Regions from separate parts of the Homo sapiens genome. Here regions 1 and 2 are each linked to region 3. Evidence: promoter capture Hi-C in 16 types of primary human blood cells and fetal thymus (Javierre and others, 2016). All regions are on one chromosome and are shown on one strand. The core of a region is centred on a gene start or on the middle of the fragment in contact, and the rest is flanking DNA. Distances in the headings are between cores, read along the strand shown. Region 1 has its middle 150 kb from the start of LINC00377. Region 2 has its middle 10 kb from the start of LINC01038. Region 3 holds the start of SPRY2 (sprouty RTK signaling antagonist 2).

The links. The method cuts DNA at HindIII sites, captures the fragments that hold promoters and counts their contacts. A CHiCAGO score of 5 or more calls a contact.
Region 1: a contact is called between a fragment that was not itself captured here and the fragment with the promoter of SPRY2 in region 3, in 2 of 17 cell types (naive B cells and M1 macrophages). The highest score is 6.0, in naive B cells.
Region 2: a fragment that was not itself captured here is called in contact with the fragment with the promoter of SPRY2 in region 3 in 5 of 17 cell types (monocytes, M0 macrophages, M1 macrophages and 2 more); the score reaches 8.4 in monocytes.

Annotation. Positions count from the first base shown.
Region 1 is chr13:80,866,432-80,869,402 of GRCh38, forward strand. No RefSeq gene overlaps it. Among named protein-coding and RNA genes, the nearest start is that of LINC00377, 150 kb to the right of the region's middle. The HindIII fragment of the contact is 460 bases long and covers 1,355-1,814 here.
Region 2 is chr13:79,812,792-79,815,962 of GRCh38, forward strand. No RefSeq gene overlaps it. Among named protein-coding and RNA genes, the nearest start is that of LINC01038, 10 kb to the left of the region's middle. The HindIII fragment of the contact is 289 bases long and covers 1,369-1,657 here.
Region 3 is chr13:80,339,075-80,342,454 of GRCh38, forward strand. It overlaps SPRY2 (sprouty RTK signaling antagonist 2), which reads right to left and starts at 2,052. Exons shown (of 2, transcript NM_005842.4): 1 at 1,548-2,052. RefSeq lists silencers at 2,000-2,189, 2,420-2,469. The HindIII fragment of the contact is 9,098 bases long and covers 1-3,380 here.

The DNA.
Region 1 (2,971 bases), core at 335-2,834, 530 kb after region 3:
AAGTATATGGTCCATTAAGAGAACACATTAAGAAATCGTATTGACTCAAGCACAGATCCTTCAAGTGCCCATTATTAGCCAAATGCCTGCATCAGTAGTTACCCACACAGAAAACAGTTTTGTTAAATACACCTCGGGCCATAAATTGCCATTCTTAGTCAGCTATTGACCAATGTCTCCAATGAGAAACTTTAAAATTCCAATTTTTGCTTTAAACTTGCCTTTTTACATGGCATAGCTCATTTTTAGAATGTAATAAAAATCAGCATTTTTAAAAAAAGCAAAAGCTAGTGTCCAGCGGAAACATTCTTGCCTGGGCCACTGCTCACATCCATGCTGCCTCATGAAAGAAACAAAGTAGGAGGCTTCTTTTTCAATTACATTGTAACTGTCAACAAAACAGCATCCTAAAAGGAATCATTCAAGTCATTTTCTATCAAATGCCAAGGATACAAAATAGATTTTCTTGTTCCCTTGATGTATGCAGTACGAAGATGTTATCTCTGCTTTCTGAATGGACTGCACTTGATACAGACCTGGAAAATACATAATTAATCCAAATGTATTGGTTTTTAACTAGATTCACACATGGGCTGCCTAAATTAAATTACATTGTTTTCAGCTTCTGATCATGTAAGTAAGCAAACTTTTTCAGTCTGGGTTTCAGGCACAGCTCCAAAATAAAAGTTAAAACTCTGCGATTGATTATTCCCCGCCTTGGAAAACAAGGCTGCTCCAACTACTCTGGCTCATAGACTCTGGCAAGAGTTTCCTCAGTTGAACCTAGATCACTATCCACAATCTGTTCTTCTTCCTTTAATTTTACTGATTAAATTTTAGCTCTACCTTTTTGATCTGTGTTTCCTTGAGTTTATTACATTCTAGACTTCCTTTTCCACCTTTCTCTTCTCATATTGTTTTTTCTCCCTACTCCCCTCAAGCCAGCCTTTTTTTCCATCTCCATTATTTCTCTTGCCATAGCTTGTCTGCATTCACACCTACCACCACTATGGGAGCCTTCTGTAGTGTGGACTAACTAGCTATTATTAATACAACTCTAAAAGACAACTTGTAGCTTCTTTCAACTTCAGCATTCCACAGCCTCATTTTGAATCAGCAAATAAAGGATGGGTTTTTGTCTGCCAAAAGAAGGTACATGTAATGCACATTTAATTTGAGAAGGATTTAGCCCTCATGTAAGTCTTTATTCAGGTGTAGTTATTCAGCCGTTTATACATCTCGGAATGAGTTCAGTATGTGTCATGTGGAACCTGTTTGAAACAAATTTTAATCTCTGAAACTTACTTTTTAAGGAGGAAGTTGAAAATTATCTTTTATTTTAGCTGAAGGGGCAAGCTTAGGTGAAGATTGTGTGAAGAGTATGAAGATAATGTATCTGAAACAATATCCAGAGAAGGAAAAGCAAAAAAGGAGAAAATAAAGGAGAATGGAGGGAAATAAAGGAGAGGAGAAGACAGGAAAAGAGAAAGGAGGAGAGGAAGGGAGAGGACAGAAGGAGAGAAGGGGAAGCTAGGAGTAACATTAGTTTTATCAGGAGCATTGTTAACCATATTTGCTGTACAGGTTATATGTCAAACTTTTTGAAATCCTTATTCTATAGCTACAGAACTAGAGAAGAGCATCTTCTCTAACCACAGAGGAAGGAATCTCTATTTTTATAAGCTAAGGGAGAAAAAAATACCTTAGCCAGTGATATATAATAAAGTGATTATAATTTGTTACGATTAAACCAAGAATCTAATTTAATTTCGCTGATTTAATTAAATTAAGAGATTAATAATATTTGTTATAAAAGCTTATTGTTTTACAAAGTCTCATTCATAGAGACAAAACAGCAAATAAATGAATGGTCATCAATAGAAAATGGCTGTGTAAAAATAGTCCTATTGTATCATGAATTATTATGCTGTCACCATATTAGGGTATTTCCATGAGTTTATAATAAGTGAGAAAATAAAATAGAGAAAAATTATATAGTAATTATTGCTTTTGTAAATCAATAAAACTTCCCCATATATGTGTATGTATATATATATGGATAAGGAGATGTGTGCATATATATATATATATATATATATATATATATACACACACAATTTTTAATATATATATATTATATATATAGTGTGTGTGTGTGTGTGTGTGTGTGTATATACATATATATGCTTATCTATTATTATATATGCCTAGAGGAAAACAGAGAATAATATCTACTAAATAGATTTTCTGGTTTGATGCTGGGTGATGGATATGAGTGGAAGAGGATGGGAGAGAGAACAAGAACCAAATAGGAAGTAAGCAGAGGAGAGTGGGGTAGAGTAGTCATCGGATAAAAACAAGTATGTAGATAGAGTGTAATTAAGCATTTGTTTCATATGTACAGTTTATTATTTTTATAAAAAGCATATTTAATTATATGTAAATGAATTCATGAGTGTCTCTGTATAGAAAATTTAGTCTTTTTAAAAAAGAAAGAAGAGAACTTTATTCACTGATTCAGTTCTCTTGTCATTCTACCCAGCAACCACTAAAATCAAAATTATGCATTTAGAGCTCTACAAACAAGACATGCACATATGTCTTCATATCATTCATCTCATCTCACTTCTTCACAACTACACCACGAGATGTAAACTTACGTTTCAGGTTGCAAATCTCCAAAGGGCACAAGTAAAGCTAGATGTCAAAACTCTACAATGGCTATTCAAACATATGGGAAATGCCATAGTAACTAGACCATGGGTTTGACGAAGAGGCAGCTCCTTGATTGCAAAAATTAGACTAGCAGCAGAAACATGAGTAAATAATTTTAAAACTTGAAGAAAGAAATTTGTATCAGGTCAACAAACACAAACTATTTTTGTTGTATTATACGCATATATTAATCATTAACAGAGTTTACAATTTTTCAGATGCTTATTAGTCTTTTGCCCTTTTGTATCTAAACAGT
Region 2 (3,171 bases), core at 263-2,762, 530 kb before region 3:
GTTTACAGTGCCATTGGGGTGCACATCCTACTTTTGTAAAGAAAAGTTTAAAATAACATCTTTATTAACATATAGTTCACATATCATATAATCACCCATTTAAAGTGCACAATTCAAAGGTTTTTAGTATATTCACAGATACATGTCACCATCACCACAGCCAAAATTAGAACATTTTTATCACCTCATAAAGAAGCCCCATATTTTTTAGCTACTACCCCCCATCCCTCCTATCTCCAGACAAACACTGAAGTGCCTTCTGTCTTTATGGATTTGCCTGTTCAGGATATTTCATGTAAATGGAATTATATAATACATAGTCTTTGTCTTATGTAATTTCCTTCTTTCCCTTAACATAATGTTTTCAAGGTTCATTCGTGTCAAAGCGTGTGGTAGTACTTCCTCTTTTTTTTTCTTTTTTTTTTTTTTTTTGAGACAGAGTCTCACTTTGTCGCCCAGGCTAGAGTGCAGTGGCATGATCTCAGCTCACTGCAACCTCCGCCTCCCGGGTTCAAGCAATTCTCCTGCCTCAGCCTCCCGAGTAGCTAGCATTACAGGCCTGCTCCACCATGCCAGGCTAATTTTTTGTATTTTTAGCAAAGACGGGGTTTCACCATGCTGGCCAGGCTGGTCTCTAACTGCTGACCTCGTGATCCACCCACCTCGGCCTCCCAAAGTGCTGGGATTACAGGCATGAGCCACTGCGCCTGGCTGCAGTACTTCCTTTTTATGGCCAAATAATGTTTCATCGTATGGATGGATGTATAATGTTTTGTTTGGTCATTGATCAGTTGATAGACATTTGGGTTGTTTCTACCTTTTGGCTATTATGAATAATGCTGGTATAAATATTCATGTATGGGTTTTTGTGTGGATGTATGTTTTCATCTTCCCTGGTAGATATCTAGGAGTAAAATTTTGAGTCACATGGTAACTCTATGCTTAACCTTCTGAGGAGCTGCCAGACTGTTTTACACAGTAGCTGCACCATTTTCCATTCTCACCAGCAGTCTGTAAGGATTCTGATTTTTCCACATCCTTGTCAACACTTGCTCTTATCTAACTTTTTGAGTATAGATATCCTGGTGGGTGTGAAATGGCATCGTGTTGTCGTTTTGGTTTTGATTTCTCTGATGACTAATGACATCAAGCATACTTTTATACATTTATGACTTCTTTGGAGAAATGTTTATTCAAATCTTTTACCCAATTTTTAAAATTAGGCTTTTATTATTTTTATTATAGAATTATATGAGTTCTTTATATATTTTAGATGTAAGTCTCCTATCAGATATATGATTTCAATTTTTTTCTCTCATTCTGTGGATTGTCTTTTTACTTTCTTGACCATATTCTTTGAAGCAGAAAAGCTTTAATTTTGATGAAGTCTATTGTTTTGGACTATTTTTTCTTTTTCTGCTCATGCTTTTGGTGTCATAACTAAGAATGTATTACCAACTGCAAGATCACAAAAATTTACCTCCATATTTTATTCTAAGAGTTGTATTGTTTTCACTCATATATTTAGGTGTTTGACTCCCATTGAGTTAATTTCTATATATAGTGTAAGTTAGAGGTTCGATTTCATTCTTTGGCATGTGGCTACCTTGTTGTTCCAGCATCCTTTGTTGAAAAGATCGTTCTTTTCTCTTTAAAAAGCTTGGAACGCTTGTCAAAAATCAGTGCACCATAGGCAGATGGATTTAATTCTAGATTCTTGATTCTATTCCATTTCTCTGTATGTTTGTCCTTATGACAGTGCCACACTGTCTTGATTACTGTTGATTTGTAGTAAGTTTTGACACTGAGAAGTTTGAGTCCTCCAACTTTATCCTTCTGTTTCAAGACTTTTTTAAATAGCTTTTTTGGGTACCTTGCAATTCCATATAATTTTAAAGTCAACTTGTCAATTTCTACAGAAAAAGCTAGCTGTGATTGTGATAGAGATTGCATTGAACCTATAGATGAACTTGAGGAACATTGCCATCTCTATAATATTAAATCTTCTGATTCATGAACATGGGTTATTTTTAATTTATTGAAATCATTTAAAATTTCTTTTAACAATATTTTGAAGTCCTCAAAATATAAATTTTGCATTTTTTGTTAAATATTTTTCTAAGTATTTTATTGTTTCTGATTTTTTAAATTTTTTAAATTTTATTTTTAGATTGTTAATTGCAATTGTATAGAAATACAATTGATTTTTGTATATTGATCTTCTAACCTGCAAATTTGCTGAACTCATTACTTCTAATTATTTTTTAAAGTAAATTTCTTGGGATTTTTAATGACAAGATCATGTCATCTGCAGATATAATTTTATTTCATTCTTTTCAATTTTGGTACCCCTTTCCTTTCCTTTCCTTTCCTTTCCTTTTTCCTTTCCTCTTTCCTTTCCTCTTTCCTTTCCCTTTCCCTTTCCCTTTCCCTTTCCCTTTTCCTTTTCCTTTTCCTTTCCTTTCCTTCCTTTCCTTTCCTTTCCTTTCCTTCTAAATTGCCTTGGCTAAAACCTCTAGAACGACATTGAATAAAATTGACAAGAGTGAACATACCTATTTGTTCCTGATCTTAGGGTAAAACATCCAGTTATTCACCATTAACTATGGTGTTAGCTCTGAGCTTTTTTCATGGATTTCCTTTATCAGATTGAGGAAGCTCCATTCCGCTCTTAGTTTGTGAAGTGCTTTCATCATGGAAAGGTGCTGGGTTTTGTCAAATGCTTTTCTGCATGTATTGAGATGCTCACATGGTTTTTGTTTTTCATTCTATTGATATGATATATTGTATTAGTTGATTTTCAGATGTTAAACTTTGTATTCCTGGTATGAATTCTACTTTGTCATGGTGTATAAATCTTTTTTTCTGTTGCTGTATTTGACTTGTTAGCATTTTATGCAGGGCTTTTGTATCCTTATTCATAAGAGATATTGGTCTGTAGTTTTCTTGTCTAGTTTTGATATCAGGGTAATACTGGCCTCATAGAATAAGATGGGGAGTGTTCCCTCCCATTTTATTATTTTTGGAAAAGTTTGTGAAGATTCGTTATTAATTCTTCTTTAAATATTTGATGGAATTCATCAGTAAAGCCATCTGCCCCTGGTCCCCTCTTTGTGGGTAGTTTTTTGATTACTAATTTAATTTCTCTACTTGTTATAGATCTATTCACAT
Region 3 (3,380 bases), core at 802-3,301:
CTTCCCCCGCCTCCCTCTCCCCAGCTAAGATCTCCCCCAACTCAAGAGAACTGCCTTCCAGCCCCAAGGAGCCACTCCGCCCCCAGGCAGAGGTCACGCCGCCCACTGCCAGGCTTTCTGCAAAGCCCCTCGGACATCCGGCACAGGTTTCCCACCCCGACACTGCGAGCACGAAAGCCCTGCCTGAGACACGCAGCCAGGACGCACAAGTCCAACCCACGCACACACGGCGACTCCACGCTGCACTGACCGAAGGGGGCATTGCCTGTAATCTGCACACGCCTATCTCCTTTTGGGTCGAGAGAAAAAAAAAAGATATCATATTTCTTAAAGTGAAAGAAAAATGGCTTTTTAAAAAAAGGGCATTTTCCAGGGTCCCACTGCTCACTCCGGGCGCGCAGGACCCAGCTCCCGGAGCTGTAAACTTTCGGTGCAGATTTGCTTGCAGTCAAAGTAGCATCTTTGAAATAAAAGGGGGCTTTTTTGTTTTTATTTTTTAAGTGATTTCTGCCGATCCGATCCCTGGCCTCCTTCTTCAAAGCTGGACTCCCTACCTCCGCCCCTCTTCTCTTTCCCAGTCCCCCCTCCCCTTTGAAAGTGCTTTGAAACCCCCATTAAGAACAGTGTGTGATCAGACTGAGGATTAGGGGAAAAGAACTTCAGCTCTAGGGTGGGGCAAACGGACACAGAAACTGCTTTGTAAAAAACACACAAGAATCCAAATTAAAACACAGCAACAACAACAACAAAAGGAAATAAAAAATTGCCTATTTTGCCACCTACTTTCAGGTAATGGAAAATGATCGCGACCGCTTGATGACTTTCTTCCTGCGCTGGGTCAGCCCGAGCTTCCAAAAATAAAATAAGTGTGACCCAGGCTGACCACGAAGAACGGAAGAGAGAGAGCTGCACTTCCGAACCGCAGAGACCCGGCGCCAGGCAGGGCGACGCTCCCACCCGCTCCGGGCTAGACTGTCCACACGGAGCAGAGGCGGGCACTCCCTCCACCCGGCACCCTGCCTTTTTCTCACCCTGGAAGTCTCCTGCCCCCGAGGCGGGCAACCTGTGTCCCCCAGCCCCACCAGCGCCCCGCCTAGGGACAGCCTCTCCCTGGACTTTGCCTTCCACCAAGAGGAAGAACAGGTTAGAAATGCGGGCGCCTGCAAAGGCAACCTGGAAAATACAAAGTGTTTTTCTCTCCCTCTCCCGCTCTCAGCGCCGAATTCGCGGCCAGTGCACGGCTGGGAGCAGACTTCAGGCTAGCTGTCCTCCGTCCCAACCCCCTAGAGCGCGGGCGCGCGGGGTCGCCTGTCGGGGACACTGCACGGGGTGCATACAGAAGTCCCCGCAGAGGCAGGCCGAGCCCAAGCCCCGGGCGAGGCAGGTCCGCGGGGAGCGCCCCGGATCCTCGCGAAGACCCTGCGGGATTTGAGAAAGGGAGGCTCGGGGAGAGACGGACCCAACTCCTGGTCCGGCTGCACCTACTCCATGTTGCCCACAACGCGCCGGCCGCGGCGCCAGGAGGGGAAGAGCCAAACGTGCCTCACCGTGATCGCGGCTTTGCACCAACCCCTCTCCCTTGGATTCTCTTCTTTCTGCGATGTGCAAATAAATCCAGTCTCGATGCAAACTTTTTTCCTTTCTTTCCAACCTCTGCTTTAGACCAACTTCCGAGCAATCGGCGGGAGAAAAAAAGAGAATTCGGAGCCAGATTCCCCGCTGATGAACACTCCGGGGTTCGGAGCTGGAGACGACTCCCCTTCTACAAGCGCACGCGGAGTATTTCCTCTTTTTTCTCAATGAACAAGAGGCCGAAGCGCCAACGGCAAGTCCCTTTTCCTGGCAGATGAGCGAATGGGAAAAGAAAACGGCCTTACGGAGAACCTAAAGCCAGATCGCCAAGTGGTGCGGCCGGGGCCGCGTCGTAGCGGAGGCGGCGCGGGGGCGCGGGCCGGGCCGGGCCGGGCGGGCGCGGGGGCCTGGGCGCTGCGCGCTCCGCCGGCCCCTCTCCTCCGCTAGCGCTGCGGCGCGCAGCTCTCGGCGGTGCAGACTGGGCGTTGTGGAGGCGAGGCAGCGAGGCCGAGGCGGGGGCGGTGGGTGCGGAGGAGGAGGAAGAGGAGGAGGAGGAGGAGGAGGAGGGTCTGGGGCCCGCCCGGGGGGGGCTCGCCGTTGGCCTGCGCCCTCGCCTTTCCGGAGGAGGCAGGGAGCTCTGCGGCGGCCGCGGCAGCAGTAAATGGCGTCATGTGGATCCGAGGCGGAACAGAGCAGTTGTTGTCCCAGAGGATATATCGCATCCGGTCCCAGCTCATTGGCTCCGCGGGGCTACATTCACTCACACTCCAGCGCCCGCCAGCGCTCCGAGCCGCAGGAGGCATTCAAAAGGGCAACCGCGCCGCCCCGCGCGTCCCCAGGCCGGTCCTGCCGCCCGAGCGCCGTCACGCGGGGCGCCCGCGGGGCCGGGCTGGGCACTGCAGGGTCAGTTTATCTAGTTTCAAGGAAACACTGACCTTAAGGTTTGCCCAGAGGCAATGAGGACGAGCCAGAGGCTCGAGCTGACTTAGGGAACTTTCTCCTTGCCACCAGGAAAGGGGAATGAACATTTAAGACTAATCTGGGCCACGCAGTGTTAGCATGAAAAACAAGTTGCAGGTTTTAAGACTTTATCCAGAATCCATTTCAAGTCTACCTCTCCCCTTTTCTGTTCCCCTTTGCGGAGCGGGTGACGGGGGCTGGGGCGGGGGGAGAAGAAGGGGGAGGGGAAGGGGAGCGGGAAGTGAGGTGGGAGGGCTATTGGTTTATTCTTTGTCTACTGGATTAACCCGATTATACACCAGGCACCAGCACAAACCGCCTCCCCCACCTCCGAGCCTTGTACGGGAGGAACGGAATGCAGATTCGAGTTTCAAGTACCTTCTGCTCTTGCTGGGATTTGCTTTTGATTGTGTCGACTTGTAGTTTTTCCGTTTATTAGAATTTCATTTTTAAGGGGGGTTATCTATGAATGGAGGCTTTTTGAAGAGCTTCCTTACTATTTTGCTTCATGCAGTAGCTAAAGTCTACAGTCTAAGCCTTTTAACTTAATTCATTAATAGACAGGAACAAGATTACTCAGGGCGACAGCATGGGCTTCCGAAATGGGGGGGCGGGGGGGAGGGAAGGGTTGGCTCACTGCAGATTTCCTTCTTCCCTTAACTAAAAGTCATCCTTCATTTCCCACTTTTCTTGCCACCTAGAACATTTCTCAAGATTCTGTTGTCCATGTTGAAGGTGCACTATTCTTTCCCATTTACAAAAAAAAAATAAAGATAGAAAATGCATACATATGCACTGTCCTAGCTGCCGTTCATTTACTAAGAAATGTGCCTTCACGTGGGAGCACC